2 separate regions of the Homo sapiens genome follow, and region 2 is linked to region 1. The links are contacts of gene promoters, found by promoter capture Hi-C in human tissues and cell types (Jung and others, 2019). All regions are on one chromosome and are shown on one strand. Each heading gives the region's core, a stretch centred on a gene start or on the middle of the fragment in contact. The rest is flanking DNA. Distances are from core to core; before and after follow the strand shown.

The links. Contacts are between HindIII fragments. The study calls those that stand out against the background at their distance.
Region 2: a contact is called between a fragment that was not itself captured here and the fragment with the promoter of ART4 in region 1, in 1 of the 25 tissues and cell types used here (lymphoblastoid cells).

What each region holds. Positions count from the first base shown.
Region 1 is chr12:14,841,435-14,846,968 of GRCh38, reverse strand. ART4 (ADP-ribosyltransferase 4 (inactive) (Dombrock blood group)) reads left to right here and starts at 3,443. Exons shown (of 3, transcript NM_021071.4): 1 at 3,443-3,999. The coding sequence starts at 3,856. The HindIII fragment of the contact is 17,730 bases long and covers 1-5,534 here.
Region 2 is chr12:15,230,249-15,235,782 of GRCh38, reverse strand. No RefSeq gene overlaps it. Among named protein-coding and RNA genes, the nearest start is that of RERG, 12 kb to the right of the region's middle. The HindIII fragment of the contact is 8,704 bases long and covers 1-5,534 here.

The sequences.
Region 1 (5,534 bases), core at 2,194-4,693:
AAATTGTGATCCTGGGACGAGACATAAAGGACATTATAGGAACAGTTAATAAATTTGACTATGAACTATGGATTAGATAACGATATTATATAAATGATATTTGTAATTAACTGTGGTTATATAAGAGAATGTCCCTGTTTTATGAAATAAATGCTGAGGTATTTAAGGGTAAAAGAGCATGATATTTGCAATTTATTCTCAAGTTGTTTAAAAAAAGAGAGAATGATAGAGCAATTGGGGTAAAATATTAACAACTGATTAATTTGGAGAGTGTATCGAAATTCCTTCTACTCTTGCACCTTTTGTGTAAGCATGAAATGTTATCTAAATAAAAAGTTATAAAAATGTGAAATAACTGAGGGAGCTTTGCTCACTTCTGTAAGAGTGTTAAGAGTTAAGAAGGAACTGATAAGTTAAAACGTAGATAACTCAAACCCATTCTGCCTACCAAATTATGGGGTCACTATCAAACAACTTTCCTGTGACTAACAAGTACTTCTGGCAATAAAACACTCCTATTAAATTTAGACACAGATCTGAAGGAGTTCAACAAGATCCAAACAGGAACTACTAAAGGTCATTGCCAAACCTCAAGGACGGTAACAGAAGATAAGTTTCCTCCCTGGGAAAGGCCCTCTAGTGAGTACTGCAACCCATTCTCTGAAAGAAGGTTTAGAATAGTCTAGAATATCTAGAATTTATTCCAGAAAATAGATCTGGAAAATTAGCGAAACCTCTTCTTAAACAGCTGCTTAAAAAAAAAAATAAAGTTAACTTTCACTGTGTTGGACACCCTATGAGTTGTTGGTCTTTCATTTCATTGTCAACAGAACCCTGCAAGACTGGTGTTACCATGTCTACTTTTACATATGAAGAAAATGCAACTGAGAATTAGTGTAATTTGTTCCAACTCACAAAGGTAGGAAGTGATGGAAGTAAAATTCCAACACAAGGTCTGTGCTACTTCAAAACTTATATCCCAACCCATCAAGACAGCACAAATAGGCTGCATTTTGAAGAACTGGGTATCATTAAATGATAACTGAATGCACCCCAAACTCTAAATTAACTAATATTAAATTATTACATGAGAATCTTAATAAGATAGCCCTTAAGGCAAAAGATGACTTTTTATTGACTCCAAACAATCAGAAAACTTAACTTTTCATTTTAATTCAAATATGTTCACATATACACCAGAACTTGAGCTTTTCCCTACCCCAGTTGTTTTCACTGATGGTTCTCTCTCTCTGTCTCTCTCTTTCTCTCTCTCTCCCCACCTTCTCTCTCTCTCCCTACCTTCTCTCTCTCCCCTCCCCTCCCCACTCTCTCGCTCCCCTTCTCTTTTGCTCTCCCCCTCACTCTCTCTCCCTCTCTCCCTCTATCTTTCTCCCTCTCTCTCTCTCTTTCTATCCCCCTTCCTGCTCCCTGCCCCATTCCCTTTTCTGTTCTCCCTCTTTTAGACTGAGTGGTATAAAATGTTACAAAGTTTTCTGCTGCCCTCCAGTGGTCTTATCCTGGAAGTGGCAGTCACGATAGGAAAAATAGCAAAACCTTTATAGAAGATAATAATAAAATGACACACTCTTTTAGAGTGTTTTAAGATCGTGGGCTTCAGGAGACAGAAAAGCACCTGTGATTACTAAAAAGTTATTAAACTTCACAGGGCCTCAACAACCACATTTATAAAGGAAAGGTTAAAATATCTCTTCATGGTCGTCCCATGGGTTGAGATAACATGCAAAAAGGTCTTGAAGTACAGTACTTGCTCAATAAAAGAAAAGTTTCACCTTATTTAAGCCTGACAACTTTCTATAAGGTTAAGGAAACTGAGGCTAAGCACAAATTACTTATTTTTTAAAGTTACCTCAGCCAGCATTGTGGGTAGAACTCAAACTATAATTCAAATTTTCATATTCTAAGTCTAGTTCTCTTCATGACATCTCAATATTCCAAAGTAACAGTTGCTAATAAGGAACCTTAAGAATTGTTAAAGTCTTAAAGGGATATTTTCACACACTGCTAGTGGTTGCCATTAAATCTGAAAAATATGCATTCCATGGATCAGTAGTCACATCTCTAGAACTGCATCTTAAAAATTGTGAGAAACACACAAAAATTTATGTAGTTGAAAACAAGCTAAATATAAGATATTTATTAAATAAACTTTGGTGCAAATAATAATAATTGGTTTTATTTGTTGGAAAATTTCTAGGTGCCAGATGCTATTCTAAGGAGTATGAATGTATCAACACTAAAATGAAGTTGGTACTATTATTATCTCCATTCAACACATGAGGAAACAGAGAGACAGAGAGGTTAAGTAGCTTGTCCAAGATCACACATTTAGGAAGAAGGAGCACCAGGAATTGAACTGAGATGTCTTATTCAAGAGTCCATGTTCTAGTCACTTATCAATCTTCTTCTGAGACTGTCCATGGATCCACCCATGCTGTCCCATTGTGTGGCAGCACCTATGTAATGGAATATAGTGAACCTTTGTTTAAAAAATGTTTCAATAGGTATTAAATTATATAGGGACATGCTTACATTAAAATATTAAGGGGAATAAACAGTATGCAAAACTGCATACTATATTATTTCAGTTCTAGAAACCTGTGTGTGTGTATGTCTAAGGGTGTATAAATCAAAATCCAGACCTAATTAGTGGCTGTCTCCAAGTGACGGGTTATGTGTCATTTTTTTCTCCTTTGTGCTTTCTAAATATTCTGAATATTTGTTAATGAGACAGAACTGCTGTGATCATCAGAAAATTTAGATTAAAAAAATTCAGGGTGCCAAAAAATTCTAGAATACTTAAGAACAGCACTTAGTTTACCTTAAAAGTTAAAAATTGAATCCAGAAGTAAATATTTGCAAGAAAAACAATTATCAAGGATTGCTAACTTTTAGTTTCTTAAATAATGAATCCAGAAGTATAAATACAAAATATTTGCAAGAAAATATAATTATATCAAGGGTTGGGAGGAGAAGAAGGATGTTTAGACTAGAAAGGGTAGTACCTACCTAAAAGAGAGTGCTTAATAGAACTGTGCTGGATTAAGTTTGCACAGTGGACCCTATTTTAACTTATGTCAGCTCTACATAAGCAGTCTCCTGACAGTCGTCATTAGGATTCACTGGAGACTGGAACTGTGCGGACAGAGGGCCTGTCTTCAGAAGAGAAAATGGGGGAAGAGCTTTGAACCCAGAGGTACAATCTCTGGATTGGAGAGTTTCAAAGGTGCCAGGGAAAAGCAGTACAAAGAGCCTTCTTTTTGACAATAACTCTAAAACACACTTTGCTCTGTGAACGCCCGTCCTGGGCAGGGCCTATCAGCAGGGCCAGATGAGCCTATAGACACCCAGGGTGGCGCGTTCCCAGCCGCCCTGCGCATGCCAATCTTATCAGTTTTGATGGAAGCCTGGGGCTCCAGATAATGCTACTTGGCCCCAAACGCTGGACAGAGCATGCTTTTTCCTGTTTGGCTGGGAAAGGGAAGGCTGAACTGCTGAGTCTGACACTTAACAGGACTTCGGCATTCCCCTGAATACAGACTAGATCAGAGATTTTATTTTTTTAATTGAAAAGTAACTTGGGTTCTCTTTAGAAACCCTTATTTGGTGTGCGCATCTGGCTATTTCACAGAGATTTCAGTTTTGCAAAGAAGTCGGAGTTGATTTCTTCCCTCAGACAAGCTATTGGTTGTTGGTGGGCAACAGAAGTTGCTCAGCATAGACAGGGGAAAAAACGGTTACGGATGAGACTGAAAGAAAACCTCAAAGGAGAACTCTGAGAATTCATCTCAGGATGAAGCTGCAAGGGCAAAGGAGAAGTACTTGTGACACAAGCAAATGGGTCCATTGATCAACAGATGCAAGAAGATTCTTCTCCCAACTACTGTACCTCCTGCAACGATGAGAATCTGGCTCCTTGGAGGCCTGCTGCCATTCCTGCTGCTCCTCTCTGGCCTGCAGAGACCCACAGAGGGTTCTGAGGTAGGGGGACAATTGAGGGGGTGATCTCTTTATGATCAGTGCTCCAACAGAGCATTCACCCGGCCACAGCCTTTAAATGGCCGAAAACTTAGGCATTCAGAATCTAGTTTCATTCAGACATTTTAACAAATCATGTTAGTAAAGAGTGTTGAAAACAGTTATGAAAAATTGTAGAATCCTTCACTGTTAGTACACTTGACATTATGGATGCTAGTGGCATAAAGTTATTTTCCTGATCCACTGTAAAAATTAAGTAAAATATTGCTTCCATAGTACAAACAATGCAAAATAAACCAAGTCTATTTGGCTTTAAACTCTAGCATACAGATTGACTTAAGTTTTAAGTGAATATTTTAATAAAGATCTGTGTAACAAAAAACAACCTAATGTTAAGAGATGACAGAGTACATATTTGAGATCTAGTAACATATTAACAAAGTTTCAGAGTTCATCATGACAGTTGACAGAACATTGTATTATTGGTTTGGTTTGGCTCGGCTTGGCTTAAATAGATACCGTAGACCTATTTTAATACCTGATGTGAAGAGTTATTGGTTAAAATCATTTAATCAGTCTTAAAAATGTGTTCTAGTTCACAAACAACTAGCTGACGTCTCATCATAAATAACATAGTAAAAATACCAAATGGGATGTTCTTTAAGTTCCAGTTCCAACATCCTTAACATTGACTGGATGGAATGTGATCCTTTAACATGTCCCTCAATGAGTACTGTTTATTACGAAAACATCATTTCTTTGCCAAGAAAGGAATGTTTTAGAATTTATATAATTTATATATGGCTCTAAATGATAGTCTGATGATATTTTGTGGACTTCTATTCAAATCTGTCATTTCAGTTTAGCATGCACTAGACGTGAATAAACAACATTCTGTTGGCTACCCATTAGAAAGGAATGTCCTTTTCCAGGAGGGGAGGGACTTTCCTAGGCACATTCCTGACCACTGTCCAACCCTTGACTCACTCTGCTGTCCCTGAGGGGGACAAATGTACTTGACTGGTAACATGGGAAAAAACAACTGGGTGTGCTGAGTTTGGCTCTGCTCTTCATCCTCCTGGGAGTTAGCCTGATGGCAAAGGGCATCAGTTCTCTGTTTCCCCATGACAAGAATCTTACCTGGGCAGGCCCCAGTTCAGTACTGCCTGCAAACGAGTCGGTCCCATTCTGGAATTTGCTCTTAACAAGCCACTTGCTATCAGACCTAACAATGTGACTGCTGTAGCGTGCCCTTTTTCAGTAAGAAAACAGATATTTTGGCTTTCATATTTTGCTATTTTTATTATCAATGTTTTCAGAACCCAGGTAGACAAGAAGGTTGTTACTTATGAGAGCCCCCTTAGTACTATTCATAGCTTAAGGATAAAGTTCAAGGATTTAATTTGGTTTTGGGCATTCATAAAAGTGATATTTTTGAAAACACCAGTGAGAGACTAGAAAGAGGGGGGAAAGTAGAGGAAACAGAAAGTGTAATTAAACTACAAGATTTTGAATTTTTTCTTCAAAGTACTTACTAT
Region 2 (5,534 bases), core at 1,974-4,473, 390 kb before region 1:
AGAATGGCCATAATCAAAAAATAACAAAACAGCAGATGTTGGCATGAATGCAGTGATCAGGGATCACGTCTACACTGCTGGTGGGAATGTATACTAGTACAGCCACTGCGGAAAACAGTGTGGAGATTCCTTAAAGAACTAGAAAGAACTCCTTAAAGAGCTATTGTTTGATCCAGCAATCCCACTACTGGGTATCTACTCTTAGGAAAATAAGTCATTATACAAAAAAGATACTTGCACACTCATATTTATAACAGCACAATTCACAACTGAAAAATCTTGGAACCAACCCAAATGCTCATCAATTGAGTGGATAAAGCAACTGTGGTATGTATATACCATGGAATATTACTCAACCATAAAAAGGAATGAACTAAGAGCATTTGCAGTGATCTGGGTGAAATTGGAGACTATTATTCTAAGTGAAGTAACCCAGGAATGGAAAACCAAACACAGTATGTCCTCACTGATATGTGGAAGCTAAGCTGTTAGGACTCAAATGATACAATGGATTTTGGGGACTTGGAGGGAAGGGTGGGAGGGGGACAAGGGATAAAAGACTACAAATAGGGTGCAGTGTATATTTCTCAGGTGATAGATGCACCAAAATCTCACAAATCACAACTAAAGAACTTACTCATGTAACCAAATACCACCTGTACCTTAATAACTTTTGGAAAAAATAAGAAGTTGATAGCGGGAGGGTGAGTGGTCAGAATCCCATTGGGGCCTTTGAGTAGGTCTTATGAAAGGAAGGAGCCTAGTTGATGGAGCCTTGAAGAAGTGACCTAACTTCCTTGGGGACAGACCTCAACAGAACTTAGAATTCTGGTAACTAGGCACCCACATTCTAGGGATAGCCCCATATCCAGCCATTGGTGGGGATGCTCAAGACAGCAAGATGTTCTCCTGCTGTATCTCAGTTTGTCTATGTCCTTGTCTCAACAAAGGCCAAAGTGAGAATCTTTCCAGAGACTGCGGACATTGGCTGAACCCTCACCATCGACGCCTCTGGCCATTTGGCAGAAGGCACCCACAGGTAACACAGGGCAGCCCAGTGGCAGGCCCTTCCAGTCCAGGCCTCAGCTGTGATCCAATCAGGGCTGTCCCATATCCTTCCCCATCACCATGTGTTTTAGGGAAGCAAGAGATGAGGGGCCCTCCCTGGACAGGGGCAGGTTGTCAGGGGTTGGGAGCGAGGTGGGTCTGTCAGATTCATACTCTGGTCATGGCTGGCAGGATGGGAAAGGGAGTGTTGGGGACAAAGCTTTTCTTTTCACATGTTCATCCTGAGACCAATCTCTCATCTAGTTTCCTCTCTGACTGGAGATGCTCTGCAGATGCTCCTATGTGCCTGATCTTGGAAGGAAAGTTCTAATCTGGGTGACTGCCTGGGGAAACAGCAAGGCTGGCCATTGATGCCTCTTGGCCTGGCTTTTGGACACTCTCTTTTCAGAGTTCCATGCAGCATATTAAGCAGGAGTTGTTGGATGGATTCACCTTCTCCATCTCCTTCAAAGAAGGGCAGGTGTACCATGTCACCAACCATGACCAGTGGTGCTCTAGGGTGAGAGTAGGCACCGAGTGGTCCCCACAGACAGCCACCAGAGAAGACCAGGGTGGACCCAGGACATATAAATGAATATGGAAATTCCCTGGGCTCTCTCCTAGGGCTTTCCCAATTGAGTAACCCACTGTCTCCTCCCAGAGGAATCTGCCTGACATTATTCCCCAGTGGCAACTTGATTACATGCAAAATCCCTTTCACCACCTTGTAGGAAGATCAGAGAAAACACCATGAGTATCTCTGCTTGTTGCCACAGTTTTGTTTTAACTCCCCACCCTAGATATCTCATATAGCACACAGCTCCATGGCCCTGCTAGACGTCCTCCAAGACTCACAATCCAACATTTACTGGGGAGGTTTTTACACAAAAGTAGGGGGGTTACACAAAAAAGGAGGTGAAGCTACTCCATGCATTTGTCTGTAAAGGGTCATCCCACAGAATTCATCCCTCTAGCCCCATCAGGGAGGAGCCCCATCAGGAAGTGCCCTCACATGGCATCATACTATTCCTTAAGGGAAGCCATTTCCCATAGCGGGTCAGCCTCTCAATGCTGTTGGATCCTGTCATAATAAGATTCCATTTCCATGTAGCCATTCTGCAGGGAGCATCCTATGTGTGTCCTAATAGGCTGGGATAGTTTCCTAGGGCTGCCATAATATGGCACACAGACTGAAGAGCTTAACCACAGAAGTTTAGTTTCTCACAATTTTGTAGGATAGAAGTCCAACAACAAGCTGTCAGTCTGGGGTGGTTTCTCTGAGCCCTCTCTTCTTAGCTTGGAGATGGCTGTCTTCTGTCTCTGTATTCAGAGGGTCTACTTTTGAGCTTTTTTGTGTCCTAACCACCCCTCCTTATAAGACCTGCAGTCATATTAGATTAGGGTACACATCAACAAACTCACTTCACCTTAAAAAAAAGAACCTATATCACAGACACACAATTTAATAGAGGCAGAGTCTGGATTCCAACCTATGCTGTTCCTGATCTTATCCATGATGTTATTGCCCCAGTTAACATCTGGCAGGAATTAATGTATCAGACTGCTTCTGTCACCCAGCCAGAATCTAAGAGAATAAGACATCAGACAGGTTTATTTGATGGAGGTATAAAGTGAAGAAAGAAGGGAAAATGGAGATGTATCATATGGGTATGCTACACAGAAAGTGCAGATAATTGTCAAATAGATTATTCATTTAGCTCCTACCAGTTTTTGCTTCTACTTGTCTCCTGGTCTAAGATTTTGACGTTGATAAACCTGCCTCTCTTCCTTTCTGCCTTTCTGCCATTTGACAGCTCCCTGGGCTTTCATATCTGCATGTTTTCAACTTGGCTTGTCCTGTTGAGCCTGTGTAACCCAGTCCCTCCCAATGTTCTCTGGGTGGGGTGGCAGAGCAGCTAATATTAGGCAAATATTTCTATAACTCTTTGTAGTGTGCTGTAAGAGTAGATACATGTGAGAACTTCTTTTCAGGCATGCATTCTTCTTTTCCTCCATCAGCCAGGATCAACACACTTGAAAGACTCGAATTTGTGCTCTTCTGCTGTGCATTCATCAGTTTATGTGATGCACAACACATACATTTTAAATGTTCTTAAAATTTTAAAATATAATTTTGATAAGAGGTCTGCTTACTTGATTTGCAGAATCTTAACAAAATGGCTAGATGGGGTCTTTCAAGGCTACATCTTCTGAGGAGTTTCATTAACTTAAGACATTATGTTAAAAACAAAAATATAGAATCTAAGAATGGCTGCATTATGTTGTGGACTCAGGAATAATTATGTACATTTGCATGTGTTGCAGAGTAGTCTTTTGATATCATTGTCCTTTGCTATTCAATCCTGTTGAAGGATTAGTAAGAGCTCTAGAGGCAGCAGCTAAGGCAACCATCTCTCTGCTTACTGGTTTCCAGATCTATTTTCATACACAATCCAGATTCTACTGACGTTCTTCTATTAGTCCTAGGTTATTATTTCATTCTCAGCTGTAACATTCACTTGTTTTGTATCAGTATTGAAGAATCCTCAGTTCTTGTTTTAGTTAAAAGTTCACTTTAATTACAGATCTTTAAACTACTAACATAGAAAGGAAATTGCTTTCTTCCAGTGTTTTTGGGAAACACCTAGATATAGCTTTATATTTGTTTGTTTATTTTGCTCACCTCTGAAATTCTGAGCCATGGATATATTTAAAAAGTAAATTGTAAATTTTGGTTTTTGTGTTTCAATAAGCTCCAGTAACTCTATCTTTCAATATTATCATCCAGCTAAAGGTAAGGGGAAAGACATAAGGGCAAACGATATGCGTAATGGAGAAAAAGGCACTGATAACAAGGCAACTGAAAGGTGACTGCACTGGAATCCAGCTTTCATAAAAGTGAGCCCCTGTGCAGCCAGCCTTGCAGGGACACTAATATGCAAAGGACCAGCATGATTGACAGTAGCATGACTCTCATACTCAGTCCCAGAGTTTGACATAAATGGCAGCATCTTTTAATTGACTTCCATGCCTTTCTGTCATCATCCTTCATGAACAAGCTGGCTAAAATAATATTCACAGCCACCAGGGAAAAGCACATGAGGTATCATCTTGACAGTGTTCATTTAAGAGATGTAACTGTAAAATCCAACCATTTTACATTTCTGCATTGATGATCTTGCTGCTGATGGACCAATTTCCCTTGACAAGGTTTTCCAACCATCTCTAGAATACACGTATTCATTTTCCAGTTTATATACTTTTTATTACTTAAAATATGATATAATTTTTATTTTGCCAGCTAATACAATACATATATCTTCATTACAAGATAAGCTAAATAAAACAGATTAAAACATTACAGATAAGCCTAACACCCCCTTATCTACCCACACCAACCCCAGATACTTCTCCAAAGGGACTTTCATCTGTTAGCTTTCTATCCTTCATACATTTACTATGAAGTCATGTGTGTCTCTACATAGAAATTATGTAGACTTCTTTTTTTACAGGAATGGCATCAGATTTTATGTATTGCCCCTTGTTTTGTGTTGGAGATATTTTATGTCAGTATATACGGATTTACCTCATTAAAATGATGAATAATATTTCTAATATAAAAATGTACTTTTAGATGGTTAAAAAATTACATAAATGGTGTTTGGTACATAGTTCCTGAGTACCATGACAACACTGTTGAAATCAGTGAGGTACATCTGTATGTAGTGAAATGAAAAGATCTCTAAAGCACAGTGCATGAGAAAAAGAACAATTTGTACATTATGATTCAATATGTAAGAATTTTTAAAAATGCATGTTTATGGGTGTGTGTGTGTGTGTGTGAGTGAGTACACAGACAAAGGAGGAAGAATATATCCTAAACTGTTAAAGTGGTTTGTTTTGTTTGAGTGTTGGCTTTAGATTTTGGCATGTGTTTTCATCTTTATCAATGTCTTATTTGATGTATATTGGCAGCATTTTGGAAACACTTAGCTGGGGATAGCTAGCCTGATGAAATATTAAACCAGAAATTACTATGTATTTGTTTCATGCTCAATCATCCACAGATCATGCATATTTTATTGTATTTATTTTATTCAACAATAATGAAAATGAATCAAGCTCTATCTCCATGCCAGCTACTATGTAAATAAGTAAATAAGTAAAACTGTAATGTTTTTCACCTTCTACAGTTTTCCCTGAGTTAGCTGCTTATTGGCATCAGTTGGTGGCTGTTATTAAACATTAGGATTTCTGTATCAACTAGATTCATTAAATGATGATTTCATGTAAAAAGAGTTTCTATTTTCAACCCTATATAAGAGACAGAACAGAGGGAAAATTATCCTAGCTCATGTGGCTTCTTAACCTTTTGTAACCATAGATGATAAGTTGGAATTTGTGAGGTTCAAAAAATGTTCCAGTTTGGAATTGTTTTTATGTATCATTAAAAGCAAAGTTAGGAAGTACAAAACCATGTGGACTTT